Linked DNA regions of Homo sapiens: regions 2, 3 and 4 are each linked to region 1. Evidence: promoter capture Hi-C in human tissues and cell types (Jung and others, 2019). All regions are on one chromosome and are shown on one strand. Each heading gives the region's core, a stretch centred on a gene start or on the middle of the fragment in contact. The rest is flanking DNA. Distances are from core to core; before and after follow the strand shown. Region 1 holds the start of SLIT2 (slit guidance ligand 2). Region 2 overlaps LOC105374511 (a long non-coding RNA gene). Region 3 has its middle 270 kb from the start of SLIT2. Region 4 overlaps PACRGL (parkin coregulated like).

The links. The method cuts DNA at HindIII sites, captures the fragments that hold promoters and counts their contacts. A contact is called where the count stands out against the background at its distance.
Region 2: a contact is called between a fragment that was not itself captured here and the fragment with the promoter of SLIT2 in region 1, in 1 of the 25 tissues and cell types used here (heart left ventricle).
Region 3: a contact is called between a fragment that was not itself captured here and the fragment with the promoter of SLIT2 in region 1, in 1 of the 25 tissues and cell types used here (IMR-90 fibroblasts).
Region 4: a contact is called between a fragment that was not itself captured here and the fragment with the promoter of SLIT2 in region 1, in 1 of the 25 tissues and cell types used here (aorta).

What each region holds. Positions count from the first base shown.
Region 1 is chr4:20,250,455-20,253,278 of GRCh38, reverse strand. SLIT2 (slit guidance ligand 2) reads right to left here and starts at 1,374. Exons shown (of 37, transcript NM_004787.4): 1 at 1-1,374. RefSeq lists an enhancer at 1-258. The HindIII fragment of the contact is 10,378 bases long and covers 1-2,824 here.
Region 2 is chr4:19,928,917-19,932,088 of GRCh38, reverse strand. All of the region lies in intron 3 of LOC105374511 (a long non-coding RNA gene), which reads right to left. Among named protein-coding and RNA genes, the nearest start is that of SLIT2, 320 kb to the left of the region's middle. The HindIII fragment of the contact is 6,007 bases long and covers 1-3,172 here.
Region 3 is chr4:19,983,910-19,987,014 of GRCh38, reverse strand. No RefSeq gene overlaps it. Among named protein-coding and RNA genes, the nearest start is that of SLIT2, 270 kb to the left of the region's middle. The HindIII fragment of the contact is 6,823 bases long and covers 1-3,105 here.
Region 4 is chr4:20,705,875-20,708,725 of GRCh38, reverse strand. It overlaps PACRGL (parkin coregulated like), which reads right to left. Exons shown (of 9, transcript NM_001258345.3): 4 at 856-923. Among named protein-coding and RNA genes, the nearest start is that of PACRGL, 6.8 kb to the right of the region's middle. The HindIII fragment of the contact is 7,860 bases long and covers 1-2,851 here.

The DNA of each region.
Region 1 (2,824 bases), core at 125-2,624:
TAGCAGAGCGCGCGGGGCAACTGGGCATGGCGCGCGGGGGTGCACGGGGCGGACGCGCAGTTCTGGGGGCGCACGGCTCTGGACTCTGCTCACTCACGCGGCCTCTCCCTCGCCCTCGACTCCGCCGCAGCCTGGACCGGTCCTCGCGGTCTCCCGACAGCCAACGATGGTTTACAAACACACATGCACTTCGCTGAAGGATGTCTGGGCAATCCCGCCTCCCGCTCGGCGTCCTTGGCGACGCTCTGCACCAGGACCTGCCCCGAGGTCACGCAGAAAAGACAAAAGGGCAGTCGGGCCGCCGCAGCCGGGCAGAAATATCCACTAGTCAGCACTCCGGCGAGGAACTCCAAGAGGCCAAGTGGAGGATGAGAGCTGCTGCGAAGACTGAGTGGGGACTGACTGGGGGCGGACTTAAAAACCAGGCAGACCGGAAGGAGTGGAAAGGCAAAGGCCAAGGTTGGAGGTGTCAGCGTCCTGCTGGGGCGTACTGGAGAATGGCTCGGTGGCAGGTGGGCGGGTGGGATCCACTACTCCAGGCAGAGCCAGGCGGCAGCTGAATGGCAGTAGTGTGTGCGCGCGTGTCAACCCCGCTCGTCTCCCAGATAAGCCGCAGCTCCGCGGCAGACACCTGATGGCAAAGGTAGAAGAAACAAGAGCCGGGTTCCGGAGGGCGCAGAGCCACGGCCGGCCCCCGGCGGTCTCCCACTAGTGGTTCGTCCTTCTCAAAGTGCAGCAACTTTTCCCAGGCTTTGAATTCCGTCCCCCAAGGCCACAGTGGCGGTACCCCTGCCGGCGTGGCGACGCCGCCCGGCTCCTGGCGCTGCACCTGACGCGGCGGCCGCAGTCCCGGGTAGTCCTTCTCCTTCTAGCCCCTTCCCCTCTCCCGCTGCTTTCCTGGCCTCCCGCTCCAGGGAGCGAGGTCGGGGAGAGGGAGGGCGACGACTCAGAGCGGGGACTCGGTGGCTCTGCCGACTCCGGAGCCCCTGGCAAGTGTCTAAACAATAGGACGGACGCAGCAGCCCAAGTCTCGCTTGTCTGGAAGGAAGGTGGGTTGTTGTCGTAACTGGAGTTGTTCGCTGGGGCTGACTGGCGCTCAGCGTAGCCAAACAAAAACCCGGCCCGCGCCTCCGGAGCCGGCTGCGGGCCCCCGGCGCTCCCCTTTCTGCTCAGCACTCCCGCCGTGCCCAGAAAGCGCGGCAGCTTCGGCCTGCGCCTGGGCGCTTCGGCGCTCCCATGCCTCGCAGCTGCCTCCGCCTCCGCCGCCGCCGCCGCCGCCGCCTTCTTTTTTTTAACCACAGTCTGCGGCAGCCACCACCACCGCCGCCGCCAAGCTCCGCCGTCCGGGCGCTTCCCAAATAAATAACACCAAGTCCGAAGTTGAGCCGGCGCGGGCCTTATATAGCCGCCCGAGCCTCCGCCCCCTGACCCCGCCCCTCGAGGCCCAGGCCCGCCCCCTGGCTCCGCTCTGGGAGCCCGCACCTCGCTGGGGAGAGGGGAGAGGTGAGGCCGGGGCTGCCAGCGCTGGGCGGAGGCGGCGGCTGGCGGCGCGCGTTCCCGTGCGCCCTGGCTCGCCCCCTCGCTCCCACGCGCGGGCAAACTTGGCCCGAAGAAGGAGCCACCCGAGCCCCAGCCCCCAACTCCTTGGCCCCAGAGGTGACCTGGGCTCGGAGATAGTCGTTTGCAGTGGGAGAATGGGAAGAGGTCGGCTTTGAACGCGGCTCATAAATAAACAGCCCTGCCAGTGCCTCTCCTGCAGCTTTTGCCACGCGATCCTTAAGGGGGCTGCTCACTCTTTGCAGCGCAGCAAGAGACAGAGAGACAGAAACAGAGAAATTATGATTTAAATTTAAGAAAAATCCTACCGAAATAGATCTGCCTGCGCTTACAGACACACACGTGTATTTTGGGGAGCTGAAAAGTTCAGTTTTTGCAAGTTGGAAAACAGCATTTTCCAACCTTCTTGCTTGCCTTTCTATCTCCAAGCCACCCCCTTCCGTTTAACCCTTCCTTTGTAGACACACACTGAACCACACCGTGGTCAGTTGATGTCTTGGATATTCAATAGGCTCACAAAACTCTTAAGGGCTTGAACGTATCTGTGTGATTTTTTACTCTCTTATGAGAGAAAGGAGGGGAAAAAATAAATCCCTAGCAACGCACATTATACCAGAAGGTTTTCTTTATTTCAGGGCAGTTCTGGATATTTTTTTCCCCGCTATGTTTTGAAAGAGAATTTCCTTGTTTCATCTTGTCTCTTTAGTGTGACGTATGTCTGGCAACGGCTGCCTCTCTCGCCCCCCTTTCCCCCCCAGCAAGAGCCAATGTCACTGTAAGTTTGAAATGACATCTAAATGACTCTGCTCCTTCTCTTGGATTTAATATGCATCATATTGTTGTTCTTCCTCCCATTTCCACGTTAAGAAGCTTTCCCTGGAATTTGTGCAAGCCCCCGCCTAATACCAGCCTCATATTGTAGTAGTTATTTGTATAATTATTAGAAGCTTCCTTGAAAGCAAGACCTGTCCAACTCTTTGTATTTCCAGCATCTATGCCTGCCACATAATAGGTTTCCTCATAAGTAACCGATTTCTTTAACTCAAGAGTATGCTCAACCTAAAATCTCTGCAATATCCTCATTAACGTTTTTCCTGGTTAACATTTTCTAAGATGTCCTTTCATAATGGCTACCCCTACTTACCTCATTTTGCCTGCCTTGGAAAACGTAAGCCTTTTCGAGGACACGCCCAAAGGCAGGGTACCATCTGATAACTGAATTGGAACTCTTAGGATTACTCATTTTAATGCCACAGATTTATATTGC
Region 2 (3,172 bases), core at 82-2,581, 320 kb after region 1:
ATACCACCCAGGTTTCTGTAAGTATACTCTGTGATGCTCATACAATGACAAAATCACCTAGTGACTCCTTTCTCAGAACATATCCCCGTCGTCAAGCCAGGTATTACCGTATATAACTCCTTAATCTCTTCCCATCTGGCTTTAACTGCTACTGCTCCGCTGTAACTCTTGTTCAGGGACCTCCAAGATATTCTGACCTTAGATCATCAAATTATTTTCCATATTGGAACATATTACCATTTCCGTATTACAACATACTTCCATATTATGACACTATTGGCCCTGGAATCTGTCATGAAATTCTCCTGTCTTCCTTTTCCATTTTTTCCTCATCATTATTCGTGGAAGTTTTTCCAGAATATTAGCCTTTGGCCTCCTTCTCTTTTCTTCATTGTTCTCTCATTTGTTACTGCACCTACTCTTAAAACTTTATCTTTCATTTCAAGTAAATAACTTTTTTTTTCTTTTCAACTTTTATTTTAGGTGCAGGGGATGCATGTGCAGGTTTGTAACATGGGTAAATTGTGTGTCATGGGGGTTTGGTGTACAGATTATTTCATCATTCAGGAGATGAGCATAGTACCTGTTGGTAGTTTTTCTAACCTCAACTTTTTCCTACCCTCCACTCTCAAGCAGGCCTTGATGTCTATTGTGTGTGCCCTGTTTTGTGTTTCATGTGTACTCCATGATTAGCTCCCACTTATAAGTGAGAACATGCAGTATTTGGTTTTCTGTTCCTGCACCAATTTGCTTGGGATAATGGCCTCCATTTCCATCCACATTGCTGCAAAGTACACAATTTCATTCTTTTTTTATGGCTTCCTAGTAGTCCATAGTGTATCTGTACCACATCTTCTTTATCTAGTCCACTGTTGATGGGCATCTAGGTTGACTCCATGTCTCTGCTATTATGAATAGTGCTGCAATGAACATACATGTGCATGTGCCTTTATGGTAGAATGATTTATATTCTTTTGGGTATTTACCCAGTAATGAGATTTTTGGGTTGAATGGTAGTTCTGTTTCAAGTTCTTTGAGATATCTCCAAACTGCTTCCCACAGTGGCTGAACTAATTTACATTCCCACCTGCAGTGTATAAGCTCTCTCTTTTCTCTGCGGCCTCACCAGAATGTTATTTTCTACTTAGTAATAGTCATTCCGACTGGTGTAAGATGGTATCTCATTGTGGTTTTGGTTTACATTTATCTAATGATGAGTGACATTGAACATTTTCTCATATGCTTGTTGATGGTGTATATATCTTCATTTGAGAAACGTCTGTTCATATCCTCTGCCCATTTTTTATTTTTTTGGTTTGTTTTGTTTCTTTGCTTGCTTATTTGTTTATGTCCCTTGTAGATTCTGGCTGTTAGACCTTAGTTAGATACATATTTTGCAAATATTTTCTCCCATTCTGTAGGTTGCCTGTTTACTCTGTTGATAGTTGATTTTTTCTATGCAGAAGGTCCATAATTACGTCCCATTTGTCAATTTTTGTTTTTGTTTCAATTGTTTTTGGAATCTCCATCAATACCTGTATTAATTATTCCTTTCCAAATTCCATTTCTCTGATTGCAACTATCTGGTGAATGTCTCCTTCTACATATTATTTAAATGTTTCAAAGTTAAATGTTTTAAAAAGAAAAATTGTTTTGCTTATTTCTCTCACAATTTTTTACCAGTTCCCTCAGGCTACAAGCCTCCAAGTCATGTCTTCACGGTTAAGACCATAATATAGGTTAGACATACCTGAATTAAAATGTCAACTTTACTCTGGAAGCTGTGAAACCTTAAATAGTTTACTAACATCTGTAAGGATCTATTTTCTCATCTATATACTAGGATAATAATAGCAACTTCCTGTCCAGGATATTTATATAAAATAACTAATTCATGTAGAACACAATTTGTAGAGGTAGATACAGGGTAAGTGCTACAAATTGGTAGTTTTTATTAATATTTAATATTATCCTCATATTTAAAATCAGAAACTAAGTACATTTACTTCTACCTTTAAAATAGGTCTTACATGAATTCTTTACTTTCCATTCCCTCTTAACCACTTTTATTTCAACTCATATTACTTCCCTTGCTTGTATACCATGGAAGAGTGGGCATTTTATTCAGGCCTTAACACCTGGACAGAGATAATCAGAAAAGGGGATAGAAAGCATTTTAGTTGACAGAAACCACTGAGGCAGGAAAATGAGCATTGTCTTCAATGACAAGCAAAGACTAGACTTTCTCTGGAACATGGAGTTTATGTAGAGGATGTTTATAATGATTGAGTTCAATGTGCCTTCTTCCATGGGCAAGAGGACAGGAGAATCTGATTGATAACAGAAGGGTCATCTGCAAATCTGTGCTTCATGAATATTAAGAGAATCTGGTTTTAGAATATGACAGAACAGAATAAGGAGATATTGGAGAGAAGGGCTAGGAGGCTGCTGGAATTACACAGTTGAAAAATGATGCCTTTCGGTCATGAAGAGAAATCCCAGAAAGCAAACTAACAATTCTGGAGAAGCCAGACTCTATTCCAGAGATTGTTTTCCAGTCTCTATAGGAAGGAAGAAAAGACTATGCTCGATTGAGAGAATCTGGATTATAGTAAAGGTGCCGAAAGTAGGAACCTGAGTATGGAAGAACATGGCAGGATTGCAGTTACTAGAGCCAGATTCCCACATGAGCCAGGACAAAGGAGGAACTCAAGCTGTTAGAATTATGTTCATGAAATCTCCAGTATTTACGCAGAATGTTCTTTTCTTGAGACAGGATCTCGCTGTGTCACCCAGGCTGGAGTGCACTCCCACGATCATAGCTCGCTGCAGCATCAACGTCCTTGGCTCAAGTGATCCTCTCTCATCAGCCTCCTAAGTAGCTGGGACTACAGGTGCACACTGCTATACCAGGCTTGTTTTTTAAAACACGATTTGTACAAATGTGCTCTTGCTTTGTTGCCCAGGCTGGTATTGAACTCCTGGCTTCAAGTGATCCTCCTGCCTCAGCCTCCCAAAGTGCTGGGATTATAAGCATGAGCCACTGTGCCCAGCTTCAGAATGTTCTTATATGCATATGTGCATATGAATTTTCTGGGGACCATGTCCATAGCGTTTATCAAACCCCAAGAGGCCCCTAAACAACAACAAAAAATATTTAAGACTTGCTACA
Region 3 (3,105 bases), core at 168-2,667, 270 kb after region 1:
TATTAATAAAACCAACTAACTTCTAGCAAGAAAAAGATAAAAGCAGACACAAATTAACACTATCAAAAATAAAGCAGGGGATATAACTATAACCTTGCAGACATCAAAAAGTTAATAAGGAAATATTTTGAACAAATATGTGAAAAATTGACAATTACTTGAAAAATATAAACTCGCAACTCATCAAATATACAATAGTAGCCTTTAACTATTAAAGTAATCGAATCTGTAGCTGAAAGAAAACTGTTAAAAATCTAGTAAGCCCAGATAACTTCAGTCTTGAATTCTAGCAAATGTTTAAAGAACAATGACAGCAATTATACACAATCTTCTCCAGAAAATAGATGAGAGAGCACTTCATTTTATGAAGCTAATAACACTCTGTGCTATGCATGATCAACCAGGAAAAATAATAAAAAACAAAACTGCTGACAAATATAAATACGAGTATACCTGGATGTATTCATGAATGCATAAATAAACTCCCTAAGAAAATTTTAGTCAACAGAATTCATTAATATGTACATTAATATGTAAAAAATATACACCATAATCAAGTGGATTTATTCCAGAGATTTATGGCTGGTTCAACATTTTAAAAAGCAATGTAACCTATCATATTAACAGTTTAAAGAATAAAAATCGCATGTTCATATGAATTTATGCTGAAAAAATATTTGACAAGCTTTAACACACATAAGGAAAAACTCTTAGGGAAAAGGGAATTGTATTAGTCCGTTTTCACCCGGCTGATAAAGACATACCCAGGACTGGGCAATTTACAAAAGAAAGAGGTGTAACTGGGCTTACAGTTCCACGTGGCTGGGGAGGCCTCACAATCATGGTGGAAAGCAAGGAGGAGCAAGTCACCTCTTACGTGGATGGCAGCAGGCAAAGAGAGCTCCTGTATGGAGTCTCCCTTTTTAAAAACCATCAGATCATGTGAGACCCATTTATTGTCACGAGAACAGCATGGGAAAGATCCTCCCCCATGATTCAATCATCTCCCACTGTGTCCCTCCCACAATGCGTGGGAATTATGGGAGCTACAAGATGAGATTTGGGTGGGGACACAGAGCTAAACCTTATCAGGAATAGAGAGGAACTTCCTCAACTTGATTAAAAAAAAATTCTTACAGCTAATGTGATTCTTAACGGTGAAAGACTAAATGTTTTCCCTGTAGAATCAGAGTGAAGGCAAGGACATCCACTCTCAACCCTCTTATTTCACATAGTACTGGAAACTCTAGTAGACACAATAAGGTGAGGAAAAGAAATAAAAGGAATGCAGATCAGAATGAAAGATATAAATTTACCTTTATTTGCAGATAACATGATCATCTTACATGAAAAAATTCTACAAAATCTATCAAAAAAGCCTCCTAGAACATATAAATAAGGTTAGCAAGTTGATAGAACAAAATAAACACAAAAATCAATTGTGTATATATACGCACACACACACACTATATATAAAAAATTAGCACATAGAAACAAAAATGTAAAATGAAATACCATTTGCAAACATTTTTAAAATTAAATACTTAGCTTTAAATATAGCCAAACATTTGCAGGTCTTGTATGCTTCAAACTATAAAACACTGATTTAAAAAATCAAAGATCTGTGAAAAATGAAGAGACATGAACTTTACGTATGGATTGTGAGACTCACATAGCAAAGATGCCAAGTCTACCCAAAGGGATATACATGTCTAGTGCAATTCTTATCAAAATCATGGCATTTTTTTGTGGATATAGACAGGGTTATCTTACAACTTACACTGAAAGGCTAAGGAAGTGGAATAGCTAAACAAGTTTGAAAAAGATGAAGAAAGTGGGAAAAATTGCTTTACCCACTTTCAAGACCTATTTTATATAGATACCATAACCAGGTCTGTATGGTATTGGCAGAGAATTAGGCTCATAGGTCAATGGAATACAATAGAGAACCCCAGAAATAGGTCCAAACATATATACCCAATTGACTTGTGCCAAAGGAACGAGATCAGTTTAACAGAGGAAAAATCGCCTTTTCAAAAACCGATGCTAGAACAGGTGAACTTCCATAGGCAAAACAAAAACAAAAACAAAACAAAACAGAGAAATAAAAAAAAAACCTGATCGATGTCTTATACTGTATTAAAAAATTAAGTCAAAATGAAATAGAGATGTAAGTATAAAATGTAAAATTATAAAACTCTTAGGAAAAAATACGGGGAAATCTTTTTGGATCTAGGGCTAGGCAAAATCTTAATACCAAAAACATCTATAAAAGGGAAAAAGGATAAATTGTACTTCATCAGAATTGAAAACGTTTGCACTGCAAAAGAGTTGTTAAGTGAATGAAAAAATATACTACACAGTTGGAGAAAGTATTTGCAAACCATACATCCAACGTAGGGCTAGTATCTAGAATACATAAGAACTCTCAAAACCCTCAGTAAGGAAAAAAAAATCAATCTAATTAGCATATACGCAAAAGTCATTAAGGGACATGACACTGAAGAGGATATATAGGTGGTAAATAAGCACATGAAAATATATTTTTCATTATGAGCCCTTAAGAAATGCAAAATAAAACTCCAATGAGGTAACACTGCATTCATATCAGAATGGGTAAAATCAAAAAAACAAAATAGTGACAATACCAAATGCTGGACAGTATGTGGATAAAACTGAATCATTCATACCCTGGGGTGAGAAGGTAAATTGGTGCAGCCACATTGAAAACAAATTGATACTTTCTTAAAAATCTAAATCTGCAATTATTATACTACTCCACAATTGTACTCCTAGGTATTTATCCCAGAAAAAGGAAAACTTACGTTTATGCAAAAAATCCATACATGAACGTTTATAGCTCCTTTAATTGTAATAGCTATAAACTGAAAACAACCAAATATTCTTCAACAGGGGAAAGGTTAAACAAACTGGGGCACATCTATGCCATGGACTTGGTACTCACTAATACAAGGAAATGAGCAATTGATACCCGATATAACTTACGTGAGTCTCCAGAGAATTAAGCTCAGTAAGAAAAGTCAGTCCCTGAAAGGTTACATAGTGTACAATTCTATTTGTGTAACATTCATTAAATGAAAGAAC
Region 4 (2,851 bases), core at 349-2,848, 460 kb before region 1:
TTTGAACTCCTTTGTAATGTTCTTGACTTCTTGACTCCTTTGGGCTTATTTTCATAAGAGTAAGACGTCTCTCTAATATTGTTTTTACATTTTTGCAACAATAAGTTTTGGAGGGGTGGGGAGTAGAGAATTAAGAAACTTTAAATAGGGTTTCAATTCAGAATGTAAATATGAAATAACAATAAACTGAAGAGTATTTCTTGAGCTTATTTTTCACTCCAAATCCGAAAATACCATTAAAAACTAGATTTCTTGAATTTTGGAACAAAAATAAATAAATGTTGTGATTATTTCCATAATCAAAATAAAATTTTCTATCATCTACAACAGGCTAAAACTGGATGAACTCTGAAGAAATAAATGCTTTATAGAAATAAATTGTAAAATGATACATTATCTGTAGTATTTTTTTTTTAAAGTTCTGACATCTGTCTAGAAAGGTGGCAAGAATTATATCCAAAATGAAGCAAAAACAGCCATATGTATTTATTATGAAATATAAACAATTTCATTAAATTGACAACTTTCATTTTACCAACAAGATAGGATTTTTTAATTTGCAACTTGCCCAAGCCTGCAAATGCTTAAATTGATTATTTTAGAAAAAGGGTTCAAGTAAAGTTCTTAAACTGATGGTTTATCCATAGATCCCAATAACTGTATTTTGGAACTAGAATGGTTTTCTTCAACAACATCCAGGAATCTATACCAGTCCAAAAGAAAGTGTGAATAAAGTCATCTTTATTTCAACCTCACTAGTAAATAAAACTTACAATACATTTAAACTAAATATTGTATTCATTTTACTCAATGATTTTGAATAATTTGGTCAGTTATAAATCATATTGATTTTACCTGCAAGGAATACCTCCTTTAGAGTAAATAGCTGCAAATGCAGAAGGCACTCGTGACTGTTCACCAAACTAAAATAAAAAATGAAAATATTACTATCACCTATACTTCTGAGGTCAGAAGCACACAGCCATTTTGCTTTTCAAACCGCCAAGCTGGTATCGAAGCGCACCGTTTCTACTCAGCAACACAGTTGAGAAAAACTGTCAATCCTCTCTCTACTAGAATACCACGACCACACTTGGTACATCTCTTTTTCCCCTAACGATTCAGGATGCTTGAACGCGGCTGAAACCACATATGGAATGATAGTTCTTTCTACCTTCTTCCCCACTGTGACCTTTCAAGGTGAGGACTCTATGGAGAAGGGGTGTTAAGTACAGAAAAAGTATATTTGTTTTTTGCCACCTGCACATCTCCTACTTTGTGCTTCAGCCAAATACAGATGGCGTAGGTAGTCACATTTCTCCAAACTGGCTTTAGGCTTCTATAAAAAACAAAGGATTGCGCTGGGCAGGAGGGAGAGAATTGAAGATGGGGAAGATTCTCACAAATATATGCCTGGATGTATTTTCTTAGATATATAACTTCATAACCTTTCAGTTTTGCTATATATGAATAGCTTGATTTTATACCTACTCTTAAAGATGATTTAAGGGATGGTCAATCACAACAGTTAAACAATTACAGCATAAATAATTTCAATATAATTGATAAGAGACTTACAGAGGATTTAGGAACAAAAAGTAAATATTTTATCACATGGTACTTTTAATATATAATCAAATGAAAAATAGTTGTCTAAATTACAAAATATAAATTGACCTGTTTTAAAGATATAACTAGATAATTTTTTTTAAGTCACACACAGTGGTAGTTTTAAAATGTGCTTAAAAAGTTTAGAATCAGCTCTTTTTTCCTCTGGAAAAGCATGAGTTTTGAGTAAAAGCACATAGGAGAAAATTCGTTCAAATTAAATTACAATAAAAGATTCATATCTGGCCAGGCGCAGTGGCTCAAGCCTGTAATCCCAGCACTTTGGGAGGCTGAGGCGGGTGGATCACAAGGTCAGGAGATCGAGACCATCCTGGCTAACACGGTGAAACCCCATCTCTACTAAAAATACAAAAAACTAGCCAGGATGGTGGCGGGTGCCTGTAGTCCCAGCTACTCGGGAGGCTGAGGCAGGAGAATGGCTTGAATGCAGGAGGCGGAGTTTGCAGTGAACCAAGATTGTGCCACTGCACTCCAGCCTGGCGACGGAGCGAGATTCCGTCTCAAAAAAAAAAAAAGATTCATTTCCAAAATTCAATCCATGTTATGTGTAACAATTCACAAGAGGAATGTTTCACTCATCTAGTTATAATTTCTGCTATAAAAGAAACACAAGTTTTAAAAATTATTTTCAAGTAACAAGCATATCCGATAAGAAAGTTGTTTGAAAAAGTGCTACACATATTGGAGAAAAAATTAAGACAAATTAGTACTATACTATCAACATATTTGACTTCTACCATCTACAAGCAAATGATCTTTCTTTTTGGCCCTTACAGGTCATGAAAATAATCCCTAAAATTTCAATATACCCACAAAGACTAAATTTCTGATTGAAATGCTAAACAATTCCTTTCTTTGCCTTTCAATTTTATTCTAGAGATAATCATGGTTTCATCTTCCATGTTCCACAAAATCAGAATTTTTTATGAATAGATTACTTTTATCGATTTTAACCAAATTTTACCAAGTCTAAAGTGAAAAATGTTATCCCATTCAATTTTTAACAATTTCAGACCATATTTCAACTCTGTATTAATGTTATATACTATACTACACTGAATTAGCGTTTCAAAAAATTTTTTAACTCAAATATTTAAAATATTAATGTGCATAAATCACAATAGTGAATTCACAAAAAATGAACACACCTGTTTATCAACAGAGTTGAAAAATCTGAAAGTTTCCAGCACACTAGATGCCTCCACTGCCTCTCCCAAATCCC